4 separate regions of the Homo sapiens genome follow, and regions 2, 3 and 4 are each linked to region 1. Evidence: promoter capture Hi-C in 16 types of primary human blood cells and fetal thymus (Javierre and others, 2016). All regions are on one chromosome and are shown on one strand. Each heading gives the region's core, a stretch centred on a gene start or on the middle of the fragment in contact. The rest is flanking DNA. Distances are from core to core; before and after follow the strand shown.

Region 1 (3,527 bases), core at 546-3,045:
CTGTAACAGGTTTCTTAGTTTGATCATCTATGTAAGCAACCCACTAGACTTGTGGAAATTTAAATATGGGAAATCATTTTCATAACTCAAAACACAGCAGTCTGTCACTTTACAGACTTCTTGTTTCGACTCTTAATTAAAGAACGTACTTTATCTTTCTTTTTAAAACTTATTTTTTCTATTTTTTGTAGACAGGGTCTTACCATGTTGCCCAGGCTGGTCTCTACAGTGATCCACCCGCCTCCACCTCCCCGTGCTGGGATTACAGGCCTAAGCCACGGCGCTCTGCCTGTACTTTATCTTTCTACCCAATTGGATTCATAAAAGGATTGTTTTCATGACTCCAACTACCAATGCAGTCTAAATACAAGCAATTTTAGCAAAATTCACAAACAGAAACGTGCTGCAACAGTAGAACAGATACCTGAGCGATAAAGACGACATGCTTCCCACTGAACTTTTTCTCCAATTCGCGTACTAGCCGGACTTGGATTTTCTGGAAAGATTTCAGTTGAGGAACGGGAACAAAGATTATGATAGCTTTCCGACCACCACCAACTTCAATTTCCTAAAGAAAAAAACAAAAATCCACTGTGTTAACTGCTTCAGAAAGTAAACGTTGTGGTCAAATTAGAGGATAAGAAGACCTTATCACTAACACCGTAGCTGCACTACAAACTAATACTAGTTTTGAGTTAATCATAAATGCATCCTTCGGAAATGTTCTCATCTCTCTCCAACCTTCACATTTCCTTATTCCAGGAAGGGAGACTGTTCAGGCCAGGAGGCCAATCACTACCACTTCTGCACCCCCACTTGCGGCAACTCCGGGCTAAGGGTAGAGAGAATCTCATCCTGAGCTCCCCACAGCTCTTTGCCGTATCTATAACTAAGTAAGGGCAAATAAGGTCCGAAATGGGCCCAGGCCCTCCCTACTCCACGTTTCTCCACCGCCCGCATGTGGACAGCTTAAGCCGCAGGGTACCTGCAACCCCACTCCCCGCACCTGGGCGGTATCACTCCCAAACAACACGGCCGAACCTGAGTTCAGGTTAGGCGGCCAGGCGGCAAGTCATCATCAACCGTAACCCAGGTCCAACCCTCTCAGGCACTGCGCGGGGAGACGCGCCGCAACCTCCCTCCCAGCCGAGGGAGCGCCAGCTTACCTTAGCTGCCGTAATATTCAGCTCCCTGAGCTGAGCCTTGAGGTCCGAGTTCATCTCCAGCTCCAGAAGAGCCTAAGAAGCAACGAACAGCAGGACCGACCCTGAGCGCGCGTCCGAGCACCCCGGGCCCAACACACGCGCGGCCGCCTCCCCTCCCGGGCGGGGCGCCTCCCCCCACCCCAGACCCCAGGGAAACCCTCTCACCTGGGAGATGCCGGACTCGAACTCGTCCGGCTTCTCGCCATTGGGCTTCACGATCTTGGCGCTCGAACTGAACATGGCTTTCTCCTGGGAGAACTGAAGGCACAGCGGTCAGCGTTACGCGGCCCGGGCTGCAGGCGCCGCTGGCTCGCCCTCCCGCCCGCACCCCCCGGCCAGGCCCCGCTCGCCCCGCAGAAGCCATCGGAAAGCACAGGGCGGGTAATCGGCTGTATCCCCACCCTGTGAGCAAGGCTCGCCCCTCCAGGGCCTGACTCCAAAAGGCGTTTTCCTCAACCCAAGAAGAAAAGTTCTGTCGGAGAGCAGGCCGCCAACCTACCTTGCCGAGCGCCGGCTTAGGAAGAGACCCAAATCTCGCGAGAGCACGTCAAAATCCGGCGTCCGAAGGCAAGAGGCGGAAACAGCGCGAGGAGGAGGGCGGAAACCGGAACATCACTGAGAAGCGGTAGGAGGCTAGAGAGTCCCAGGAAGCGGCTCTGGGGACGAGTGTCTTGGTAACGCTTTTCCGCCCTAGGATTCGTACTTTGGTGCCGTTTCCGAGCGTTCCGGTACCGGCTCCCAAGGTTCCCGTCTTCAGTGCAGGTTGCAGGCGGGAACCGGCCTCGTCCCAGCCCTGGGCCTGGGAGAGAGAAGGAGGCCGAAGAAAACCAACTTCGGCAACCTCCGGAGACAGGACGTTTAAAAAAGGCTAACTTGGCTGGGCGCTGAGGCTCACGCCTGTAATCCCAGCACTTTGGGAGGCCGAGGCAGGAGGATCACTTGAGCTCAGGAACCAGCCTGGGCAACATGGCGAGACCCCATGTCTACAAAAAAAAAAAAAAAAAAATTAGCCAGTCATGGTGGTGCGCGCCTGCAGTCCCAGCTACCCCGGAGGCCGACGCGGGAGGATCGCTGGAGCCGAAAGGTCGAGGCTGCCGTGAGCCGAGGTTGCACCACTGCACTCCAGCCTGGGCGACAGCGCAAGACCCTGTCTAAAAATAAATTTAAAAAAAATTGCGAGGCCTTCATTCTATGCTAGTACTGTACTAGGTGCTAATTATTAAGTAAAACCGACTGAACTCTTGCCCTCATGGAGCTTACAGTTCAGTGGAGAAGACATTACCTAAAGCAGTATGACTAAATATATAATGACATATTGTAATAACTTACATAACAGTACAATGAGAGGGTGGGGAGGGATTATTTATGCTTTAAGAAGTCGGGAATCCTGGAACGGAATGACATTAGACTGAGACACGGAAGAGCCGCAGGATCTATTGCTGGGGAAGAGCATTCCAGACAGGGAGGAACTCGTGCCGAATGATCCCGCTGTGGACAGGGAATTTAATCTGAGCTTCGGTTTCCTCTTCTGTCAAATGTCATGCAAGAGTTACTTTCAGCCGTGGTCCAGGCACTGTGAAAAATGCAGAAGCCACACTAGGTGCCCTCTCTCAGGATTCCCAACCACCTTTACCAAGCAGAGATGGTATTCATCCCACATTTTTAATGCTAGATATGCTCCCGCCCGGTGCTTCTCTAATAATGTTTTTTAAAAGGTAAGTGACTGTCTCCTTGGAAAATTAAGGATAACTTGAAGTTTCTTCCAGATAGAAAGTAAACTACAGCTGCGTCTACAATCTCATCTGGGCAGTCGTTCTGAGCCCTTTTGTCGAACTAGGTCCATTTCCTTACTCCACATGCACTTTTCGACCTGGCTTTTATCTCTGCTGCTCTATAAAAGTAGTAATCTAAAAGTTCATCCAGTAAAGCTTTTTCTCTGTGAACCTATCACTTGAGAACAAAAAAAATTAAAGTTATTTCTGGTTTCCAGTCCTTTGTTGAATAGGAGTGGTGAGCAAGGACATCCGTGCCTTGTTCTCCATCTTAGGGGAAAACCATTCAGTCTTTCACCATTAAGTATAATATTAGCTCTAGGATTTTGCAGGTATTTTTAATCAAATTCAGGAAGTTCCCTCTGTTTCTATTTCTGAGAGGTTTTTTTAAAATCATGGGCCGGGCACGGTGGCTCACGCCTGTAATCCCAGCACTTTGGGAGGCCGAGGCGGGTGGATCACGAGGTCAGGAGATCGAGACCATCCTGGCTAACACGGTGAAACCCCGTCTCTACTAAAAATACAAAAAATTAGCTGGGCGAGGTGGCGG
Region 2 (3,527 bases), core at 393-2,892, 7.2 Mb before region 1:
CTCAAGAAATTATTTTTTTCCTAACGAAGAATAGCCTGAAAAATCAAACTACAGACACAGATAAACAAAGACAACTAGAAAAACTAGAAACTTACACAGGGGAATGCCAACGATGACATCTATAGAAACGAGGCTACCTGGGGGCTGGACATGTCCACCATGGAAGCTCCATCTTCCCCTTCTTTGTTAACACGTGTACAGTAAAAAAGAAATGGGCAACATGACAATTTAGACTGAAAACACACCTGTAATAAAATACTGGGGTGGGGGTTGCCAGAAATGTACACCTTATACAAATGACACACCTGGTCCTAATCAATTTTTCATGCCCTCTGTAGATCAGACACCACCTCCCCAGCGACTCATCTATAAAACACCCCACATTTAACCACAGATCAACAACCCATTTTTCCGGGACCCCCTTCTATAACAGAGAGCTATTCTCTCTCTTTCATCTATTAAACTTCCGCTCTTAACCTAACTCTTCGTGGGTCCACGTCTTTAATCTCCATGACCATGAGACAACGAACCACAGGTATTACCCCAGACAATGAGGCCACTTCACTATGCCAAGAACACCTCTGGACTTCAGTGTCTCCCTCGGTAAAGTGAGACTAGTCATATCTAACTGCAGGGCTGCTGTGAGGATTAAACGAAACACAACACATGGTGGCCCCATCTAATAGAGACCAGCAGGACAAACCTGCAGACCAGCAGAGGCGGGCTTCTCGGATCACTGCAACAAGAGAGGGCACCTCAGAGGACCCATGGGGCAACTCTAACCAAGCAAGCCAACAGGATTACCATAGGGTGTTGGAGAAGGGAAAGTTGTAGGTAAGATTTAAATAAAGCAGTGTTTAATAGGCTCAAAGCAAAACACAACTGTGTATAAAGGAATTACGGTCAGACCTGGGCTACGAAGTGGATGGAGGTTCCTCTTTCCTTGGAAATGATGAAGTTAAGACAAATGTGCAATGTTGTGTCCAGAAGGCCCTGGGTTGGAAATCAAGGCAGCTTCTCAGTGTTAAGATGACCCAGGTCCTTCAGACAAAAGAAGGATGTTCCATTCTTACTCTATTTATCTCAAATAGCACAGTTTATAACAGTCTGTGCTTTTTCAGGAATAAGATTTTTCAGCACTATAACTTTTCGTTGATTAACAAAAGCAGTTTTAGCAGGTTCACAGATGTAAATACGTGGAGCCTGGCATATGGTGAACATTCGGTAATAGTTTCCCCATCCCCACCTCACTCATCTCCTCTTCTCTCTCACTTTCAGGCTCACCAACTTCTCCTGCCCACTCCCTATCAAGGAAAAGTCCCATAATGTATCCATCAACCACCATGGCTAATGCACCCGGTAAGTAGAGGAAACTCCCAGAGTAGGAGCCTCCATCTGTTCACAACAGCCAAAAGGTGAAAACAACCCAAGTGTCCACTAACAGACGGATGGATAAACAAAATGAGGTCTAGTCATATGATGGAATGTGACTCTGCTTTAAGAAGGAAGGAAATTGACACATGCCACAGCATGAATGGACCTTGAAGACGTTAGGCTAAGTAAAATCAATCACTCACAAAAGGACAGTACTATAGGATTCTACTTACATGAGATGTCTAGAGTAGTTAAATTTATAAAGACAGAAAGTAGGATGACAGTTGCCAGGGGTCAGGGGGAGGGGGAATGAGGATTTGGCATTTAATGGGGATAGAGTTTCAGTTTGGGGTGATAAAAAGCTCTGGAGATGAAGGTTGTACAACGATGTGAGCGCATTTAATGCCATGGAACTGTACACTTAAAAATGGTTAAAGGCCAGGTATGGTGGCTCACGCCTATAATCCCAGCACTTTGGGAGGCTGAGGTGGGTGGATCACCTGAGGTCAGGAGTTTGAGACCAGCCTGACCAACATGGCAAACCCCTATCTCTACTAAAAAAAATACAAAATTAGCTAGGCATGGTGGCATAAGACTGTAATCCCAGCTACTCAAGAGGCTGAGGAAGGAGAATCGCTTGAACCCAGAGGCAGAGGTTGTAGTGAGTCGAGATAGTGCAATTGCACTCCAGCCTGGGCAACAAGAGCAAAACTCCATCTCAAAATAAATAAATAAATAAATAAATAAATAAATAAATAAATAAATAAATAAATAAATTAAATGGTTAAAGTGAGCTGGGCACAGTGGCTCACGCCTGTAATCCCAACACTTTGGGAGGCTGAGGTGGGCAGATCACTTGAGGCCAGGAGTTGAGACCAGCCTGGGCAAAATAGTAAAACCCCATCTCTACAAAAAAAAAATACAGAAATTAGTCAGGTGTGTTGTGGCTTTCATCTGTAGTCCAGCTGTTTGGGAGGCTGAGGTGGTAAGATTGCTTGACACTAGGAGGTTGAGGCTGCAGTGAGCTATGATCACACCACTGTACTCCAGCCTGGGTGACAGAGTGAGACCCTGTCTCAAAAAAAAAAAAAAGTTAAAGTGGTAAATTTTATTTTATGTTATGTGCGTTTTATCAGTATTTTTAAAAGGCTTCATCTGCCTATCCCCACTGAAAATAAGACTCGACTCTACCTATGATCTGAACCTCAGAATGAATGAGAAAGTCCAGAGAGGAGCACTGTGTGTCTCCTGAGCACCCCTAGGAAGAGGTACATGTCCCCTGTCGGATCTACCCTGTTCATTCTGTGGGTACGTTAGCCCAGATTCTTCACCCTGAGAACATTAAGCCCTGTATTAGTCAAAGTCAAGCTAAACTCCTGTGGCAAGTTATTCCAAAATACAATGGCTAAAACTATAGAATCTTCTCTCTAAAGTAACAGCTACATGGTGAGCCATCCAGGTTGGAGGGTGGCACTGATCTTCCCGGTCATTCTAGACTTGGGTTCCTTCCCTGTCACTGCTCCAGTGGCCCCAAGGTCCCTGTGGGGGTCTGCATGGTAGAAGCTGGGGTGCCCCAAGTCCAACAATTCCGCCTGGTGGAAGAGGAACAGGACCTGGCTAAGCAGTTGGGATTATCACCTCCTCTCCCATTCCATTGGCAAGGCCTTGGGCGCCCACCGGGGGAGCTGTGTGGTGAAGTGTGGCAGGCAGTATATACCTGGCTGCAGTTCTGCGACTGTGGAGGAATTTCCAGAATCTGCAACTTTGATTTTCATTGCTTGCAGTCTCTTCCACAAGCCCTAAAACAAGAGTCACTCTCAACTCTGGTGCTTGGGGACAGTTCTTTATTCTAACCCAGAAAGATGACCTGAGTGACTAGAACTCAGAATAGGCACCTGGGAGTCCCTTAATTAGACACAGGGGGTTTGCAGCCATAGTTCTACCTGCCGTGTTGTAACAGCGTCACCATCAGCTGCTGAGGCAGGGCAAGTGACTTGCTGCTAATAACATAAAGTACTCATGTCTGCAAACCACTTACTCTTTTAACTAAATTAGAGAGTAATCAAGGTTAGCCTTTTAATAACATCACTTTCACTTATGAAAAACCATACAAGCTTCCTGAGTGGAATAAAAAGGGAGAGTGATCCTAGCGG
Region 3 (3,527 bases), core at 390-2,889, 6.0 Mb before region 1:
AACTCCTGGCTTCAGGTGATCCTTGGCCTCCCAAAGTGCTGGGATTACAGGTGTGAGCCACCATGCATGGCCTCATTTGGGAAACTTTTGATATCAGAATCTTAGGTTTTTCATTAGAGATTGTCAGATTTCCATATTCCTCTGGAAGGTAAAGGCCTAATTGCTAGCATTCTGGAAGCCAGTTAGGGTAGGAGGGTAGGAGGGTAGGGTATTGGGTAGAGGATAAAGAAGGGGTTTGGGAAAGGTGGGGGGTGTCTCTTGGCAGTTGTATGGTTAAATTGAGTTTTTGTTTTATTTAGTGATATGTGTTTTTTGGGTACATGTGATATTTTGATACCTGTGTATAATATGTAGTGATCAAATCAGGGTGATTGGGATACCCATCATTTGAAACATCTTTTCTGTGTTAGGAATATTACAAGTCTTCTAGCTGTTTTGAAGTATACAATAAATTGTTAACTATAATTTCTGTACTGTACTATCAAATATTAGAACTTACTAATCAAACTGTATTTTTGTAACACTAACCACTTTCTGTTCATCTCCACCACTCCCACTTCCCTTCTCAGCCTCTGGTAACCACCATTCTGCTGTCTACCTCCACGAGATCCACTTTTTTAGCTTCCACACATGAGTAAGAGTCTTTCTTTTAAAACTGGTTTTGTGAGCATATTTAACATCAGTAGCAATAAACTTGTATTTTAAGCTCCTGTTGCTGTATTTTGAGGACCTTCTAAGTCCATTGGAAGGATTTTGAATACCATAGTGTCTGCAGTGATAGTTGTTGAAAGAAAGGGAAGGCATCAGTGCAAATATTTTTAGACAGTTTTTAAAGAGACTCAAGTCACCCAATTTGTCTTCTAAAAATCCTGATTTTGGAAGAGGCAGTGGAGTTTCTGTTGATAAAAAATGATTTATAGTTTGTGCTTGGCACTTCCTAATGGATTACATCAGGAAAGATTTATTGTCTGGCACTCTCATTTTAACGATACTACAATTGATTATTAGGTTTAGATGCTAATACCTTTTTTACCTTTATTTCAGAGAAGCTTGATTCTTTGCTCTCAGACTACGATATTCTCTCTTTATCTAATATCCAGCAGCATTCGGTAAGAAAAAGAGATCTACAGACTTCAACACATGTAGAAACACTACTAACTTTTTCAGCTTTGAAAAGGTAATTTGAATTATTCATGGAATAATGTTGGGGCACTGGGGGCTTGGTTTGGCAAAAACAAAAAAGTAAGGGTATCTACTGAAATCTTGGGAAATTACATTTTAAAGATTTGTAATTAATTTCCAGTATAATGCTTATTCTAAAATTCATACTGGGGCTGGGTGCAGTGGCTCACGCCTATAATCCGAGCACTTTGGGGGGCCAAGACATGTGGATTGCTTGAGCTCAGGAGTTTGCCCAAGCTCAGCCTGGGCAACATGGCAAAACCCCGTCTCTACTAAAAGTACAAAAATTAGGCATGGTGACACGTGCCTGTAATCCCAGCTACTTGGGAGGCTGAGGCAGGAGAATCACTTGAACCAGGGAGGTGGAGGCTGCACTAGCCGAGATGGTGCCACTGCACTCCAGACTGGGCAACAGAGTGAGACTCTGTCTCAAAAAATAAATAAATAAAATAAATAAAGTTCATACTGATGAGTATTTTTAAAAAAGTAAATAGATATTGCAGAGGTGTTAATGATGGTAACGATGTTTAGAAAATTCTAACATAATTTAAATTAATTGAATGCTTATAAAACCTTTTGTTTTTGGTGCTACTTTATAACCATCAATCATGTGCTAAATATTATCTTTATATATGAAGAGATAAAGATTTTGTTCAGGACCCCACAGCCTGGTGGTGAGCTGGGTCTAGATTTTACTGTTCTATTTATTTATTTAGCTAACTAGTTACTTAGTTTCCAGGATTCTTTAACCTGCTTCATATTTATTTATTTTTAAAAACAGGGTCTTGCCATGTTGCCAAGGCTGATCTTGAACTTCTGGGCTCAGGTGGTCTTTCCATCTTGGCCTCCCAAAGTGCTGGGATTACAGGTGTGAGCCACCATGCCTGGCCCAAATTTAATATTCTTTCTACATTGAGTTCCTCTTACTTCTTAGCATAAATTGATGGATATGTTCTATTTCAGTAGTAATTTTAATACCACGTATTGTTTTGCACATTGAAATGTTAAATAATTGCAGGCCTCTTTTTAAAGTCTTTAGGAAGCTTTATTCAGTATCAAAAAACAGACACATGGAGAATTGACTGAATTATTCTTTATTTATTTATTTTTTTGAGAGTCTTGCTCTGTCGTCCAGGCTGGAGTGCAGTTGTGTGATCTTGGCTCACTGCAACCTCTGCCTCCTGGGTTCAAGCGATTCTTGTGCCTCAGCCTCTCAAGTAGCTGGGACTACAGGTGCACAGCACCACGCCTGGGTGATTTTTGTTATTTTTAGTAGAGACAGAGTTTCACCATGTTGGCCAGGCTGGTCTTGAACTCCTCACCTCAAGTGATCCACGATCTCGGCCTCCCAAAGTGCTGGGATTACAGACAGGGGCCACTGCATCTGGCCATCTTTATTCTTTATATAGGACAAGCCTTCTCAACTATGTTAAAAAATAAAAGGAATATGTGCGTCTGGTTTAAAAAACAAGCCATGGAGGATATGCAAAGTTTTTACTTCTAACTCAGTTAGACTTCTCAGACCCAGAGAGGTTTCCTTTGTAAACTTCCAATTTTTTGTTTTGTTTTGTTTTTTGTTTTTTGAGACAGAGTTTTTGCTCTTGTCGCCCAGACTGGAGTGCAATGGCACGATCTTAGCTCACTGAAGCCTCCACCTCTCGGGTTCAAGCAGTTCTCCTGCCTCAGCTTCCCGAGTAGCTGGGATTACAGGAGCCCACTGCCATGCTCAGCTAATTTTTGTATTTTTAGTAGAGATGAGGTTTCACCATGTTGGCCAGGATGGTCTTGAACTCCTGACCTCAGGTGATCCACCTGCCTCAGGCTCCCAATGTGATGGGATTACAGGTGTGAGCCACCGTGCCCGACCCAAAATATTTTAATGCATGTTTTTTGCCTATAGGTCTCTGTGTGTGTATAGGTGATATAGATAGCATATTTACCTCATTTTAAACAGCTGCATAAATATTCCTATTGCATAGAATTGTAACAACATACTGACTAATACACTACAGATGGATATTGTTTAACCAAAGTGATTTTTTTAATACAACAAACAGTGCTCTAGTGAGTATCTTTGTAAATGTGTACCTTGATGAGGTGTTTTTATAGGATATATTCCTGGAAGGAGAATTACTGGGTCAAGGATATGTATACTATGTTTATTGATATTGCTCTTTCCTCCCAAAGAGATTTGACAAATTTATTCTTCCAGCAGCAATATATGAGTTTACCTGTTTCCTGTTATCTTTGCCAATAGTAGGTTTATCAGCCTTTAACTGTCACCCCTCTAAAGGGCATGGCATTTTATAGTTGTTTTGATTTTCATTTTGTGTGACATTGAGCAT
Region 4 (3,527 bases), core at 291-2,790, 5.9 Mb before region 1:
GACCTGGGGATCCAAGCTTCTAGGCCAAGGCTTGATCCCCACATGCTGGAGGCGGCTAGAGCTCTCAGTGTGTTCAGAGTGCTTGGGCCCTTGGGATCTTCCACTGGGGGTGGGGCAGTTAGGCTGGCTCAACCCTTCAGGAGTGGAAGAGGGACTTTGAAGAGGTAACAGTTCAACAGATCTAGCTGACAATTTTACAGTCATAGAATATATCTTCTTAATCAACTAAATTACTAAGTAGAAGTGTGTATTAGTTTTTCTCATTAACACTATACAGCATAGATTACATGTACTATAACATTTTTCTGGGAGCTAAAAAGATAACTAGTCTATGAGAAAAGACTAACACCCAATACAGACAGAGCCATACTATTAAACTGAGTACAAAAATAGTAATTACCATTATTTTTCTTCCTTTGAACTCGAGAATAATACATGATCTTCCTACTTCTTGCCCAGCTCCACTGTAAATATTCAAGGGGAGAAAAAGAAGGATTAAAAAAAATCAAAACCAAGTCCAATAAACTTACACTTTTTTACAATGTACACTACATGCCATCTGATGACAGCACCTCACTGAAAAATTCTGAGACGTAAGAGAGTTCTACAAAATCACAAAGACAGGGAAGAACAGTGTCCACATGAGAACAGATGAAAACTGATCCTTGGGAGTCCAGGGATCTTGCAGTTCTTAAAATTAAGAGAGAAGGCGGTACAGATCCAAGAAGCCCAAAGGTTTGGGCTTGATTTAAATTCAATTTTCTGAATTTTAGGATTAAATTATAATGTATTTAAAATGTAAACTAGCAGTTACGCAGATTATATAATAATACTTCTAGAATTAGCACTTAAGTAGAAAGCCATAAGCATTTCAACACTGTCATCTTCTTTAAGATCATAATGTGTATTTGCCAAATGGCTTAAATTTAAATGGCCGGGTGCGGTGGCTCACGCCTGTAATCCCAGCACTTTGGGAGGCCGAGGCAGGCAGATCACGAGATCAGGATATCGAGACCCATCCTGGCTAACACGGTGAAACCCCGTCTCTACTAAAAATACAAAAAATTAGCCAGGCGTGGTGGCGGACACCTGTAGTCCCAGCTACTCGGGAGGCTGAGGCAGGAGAATGGTGTGAACCCAGGAGGCGGAGCTTGCAGTGAGCTGAGATCGCGCCACTGCGCTCCAGCCTGGGCAACAGAGCGAGACTCTGCCTCAAAAAAAAAAAAAAAAAATTTTTTTTTTTAAAATACTTATTCATACTGTGAATTTCAATCACTTTTTCTTCTACTTTCTGTTATTTCAGCATATTTTATACCAACTACTTACATAATTTTTGTTTCTTCTTAATAATTTCAGCCATAATTTGCAATGGTCACAAGGCACACTTTAAGTTAAACCTCATCTTTCAAATCCCTCACCTTCTTTGATGCCTTTTCCCAACCATTCTAGCTCACAATCCACTCACTCACTCAACATTAAGCAGCTTCTATTTGCCAAGCACTGGATTAAGTGCCTAGGACATGGAAATGCCTTACAGGGACCCTGACCTCAAGGAACTCAGTCAGATGGACATGCAATGGATCTATCCCCAAACTGAGATCCTACCTCCAAACAGGTGTTGATACAGAAGATCAAACAACTGTGGATGAGAGCCGCCATAAATTCCTGGCCTTCCACTTTTTAAACATTTTTTATTTGTAATTATTGTGGATACCCTGGCCTTCCACTTTAACTGGCCCTCAATGTTGCCTGGCTGTTTTCTCCATTTCATTTCCATATCAACTATTTTCAAACTTTCTTCCCTTTCCCAAATTTTCCAACCTTCTATCCTCTTCTTCACTTGAGGCATGGGCCATCTTCTGCATCAAAAAAATAAACAGTCCATTTGTAAATTTCCTCAACTTCATGTTGGTACAATAATTAAGAATACATGTACCAACAGGGTACCAACCTGCCCACATCTGTCTCCTTCTATTTCTCCTCTATAGATAGAATAGACCTCTCTTTCCACAATGAAACTTTCCACCATTCTACTCTACGTACTCCCTCCCTCCTTCTGAGGAACTCAACACTGCTGTGTCATTGACATTTTCCTCACTGTCTGCTCTTTACCATCCAATCCAAATTTAAACATACTACAGCCATGTTCATCCCCAAATTAAAATCCCTTGACTCTAAGCTCCTTTAGTTCCCACTTTATTCTTTCCCCAGACCACCTCCCAGGGCAGTGGACCCTCTTGTACTTCCTCACCTTCTACTCGCTCCTCAATTCGCTATACTCTGGCTTTTACCAATCACTTTTCTGAAACTGTCCTTGCTGCTCAGTAGTCATTTCAGTCTTTTTTTTTTTTTTGAGACAAGGTCCCCCTATGTTGCCCAGTCTGGCCTTCAACTCCTGGGCTCAAGTGATCCTCCCGCCTCAGCCTCCCAAGTAGCTGGAACTATAGGTGTCAGTCCCTATCTTGTTCTCTTGGCAGCCGTTGTCACTCCTAAGGAGTACCTGCTCCTTCCTCAAGCACCTCTCCCTTGGCTTCTCTGACCTGATGCTCTCATCTTGTCTTGCTGGCTTTCCTGTTTCCTTCACATATTCAGCCACCTCTGCCTACCCTTTAAATGTTGATATTCCGAGGGTTTGCTCCTTGGCCAACTTCTCAATCTTCATTCTCATCTTTCTGACATGCTAAGGACTTCCAAGCCTGTATTTGTAACCCAGATTGTTCTTCTGAATTCTAGACCTTTAATACATACACGTGACACTAGGTATCTCTACTAGGATCTCTCCCGGGACTTCATATTCAAGATGCCAAACTAGTTTCCACCACATGCCCCGTACTTGCTCTACTTTCTTCCTGAAATGCTTTGTCTTCAGATATTGATGTGGTTGGCTCCTTTGTATCATTTGGGTCTCAGTTCCAACGTCACCTTCTCAGATGCTTTCCCTTGACTACCTCCTCTAATTTGCCCTTCACAGCAAGCCACAACCCAGCATCAGTTATCTTAATACAACTACATGAAGTTATTGTACCTACTTATGTCTTCTTTCAGGCTACTAAATGAAAGCTTCCTAAGAACAGAGGCATTGTCCATCTTATTCACTGCTGTATTGCTACAGTACCTGGCATGTAGCACATCACAAAAAATACTTATTGAATGAACAAAACTCCTCAATTTTGAACCTTGGAAAGATTATGCTAAATGAAAGATGCCAGAGACAAAAGAGTATGTATTGTATGATCACACTTACATGAAATGTCCAGAACAGGCAAATCTATAAAGAAGTAGATTAGTGGTTGCTTAGGGCTGGAGAGGTAGTGGGGATTGTCTATGACTGCTAATGAATACAAGGTATCTCTTGGGAGTGATGAAAATGTGCTGGAATTAGAGAGAGGTGATGGTTGTATAACTCTATGTTAAGAACGACTGAATTATACTCTTTAAATGAGTTGTATGGTATGTAAATTGTGAGTTGTATGGTATGTAAACTGTATCTCAATAAAGCTGTTACGAAACAACCAAATTCCCAAATT

The links. The method cuts DNA at HindIII sites, captures the fragments that hold promoters and counts their contacts. A CHiCAGO score of 5 or more calls a contact.
Region 2: a fragment that was not itself captured here is called in contact with the fragment with the promoter of RPS7 in region 1 in 1 of 17 cell types (neutrophils); the score reaches 7.5 in neutrophils.
Region 3: a fragment that was not itself captured here is called in contact with the fragment with the promoter of RPS7 in region 1 in 1 of 17 cell types (total B cells); the score reaches 7.5 in total B cells.
Region 4: a fragment that was not itself captured here is called in contact with the fragment with the promoter of RPS7 in region 1 in 1 of 17 cell types (total B cells); the score reaches 5.4 in total B cells.

The regions. Positions count from the first base shown.
Region 1 is chr2:3,573,528-3,577,054 of GRCh38, reverse strand. RPS7 (ribosomal protein S7) reads right to left here and starts at 1,795. Exons shown (of 7, transcript NM_001011.4): 1 at 1,705-1,795; 2 at 1,371-1,463; 3 at 1,167-1,238; 4 at 425-568. The coding sequence starts at 1,445. It overlaps LOC124907726 (a long non-coding RNA gene), which reads left to right and starts at 1,946. Exons shown (of 2, transcript XR_007086196.1): 1 at 1,946-2,920. RefSeq lists a silencer at 1,249-1,538 and enhancers at 1,090-1,666, 1,667-2,242. The HindIII fragment of the contact is 5,628 bases long and covers 1-3,135 here.
Region 2 is chr2:10,817,106-10,820,632 of GRCh38, reverse strand. It overlaps a transcript of PDIA6 not described here. Among named protein-coding and RNA genes, the nearest start is that of PDIA6, 6.1 kb to the right of the region's middle. RefSeq lists an enhancer at 1-920. The HindIII fragment of the contact is 3,696 bases long and covers 1-3,490 here.
Region 3 is chr2:9,540,803-9,544,329 of GRCh38, reverse strand. It overlaps ADAM17 (ADAM metallopeptidase domain 17), which reads left to right. Exons shown (of 19, transcript NM_003183.6): 2 at 1,045-1,177. Among named protein-coding and RNA genes, the nearest start is that of ADAM17, 13 kb to the left of the region's middle. RefSeq lists an enhancer at 2,376-2,555. The HindIII fragment of the contact is 1,176 bases long and covers 1,052-2,227 here.
Region 4 is chr2:9,425,702-9,429,228 of GRCh38, reverse strand. CPSF3 (cleavage and polyadenylation specific factor 3) reads right to left here. Exons shown (of 18, transcript NM_016207.4): 2 at 401-464. Among named protein-coding and RNA genes, the nearest start is that of CPSF3, 3.8 kb to the right of the region's middle. The HindIII fragment of the contact is 3,044 bases long and covers 19-3,062 here.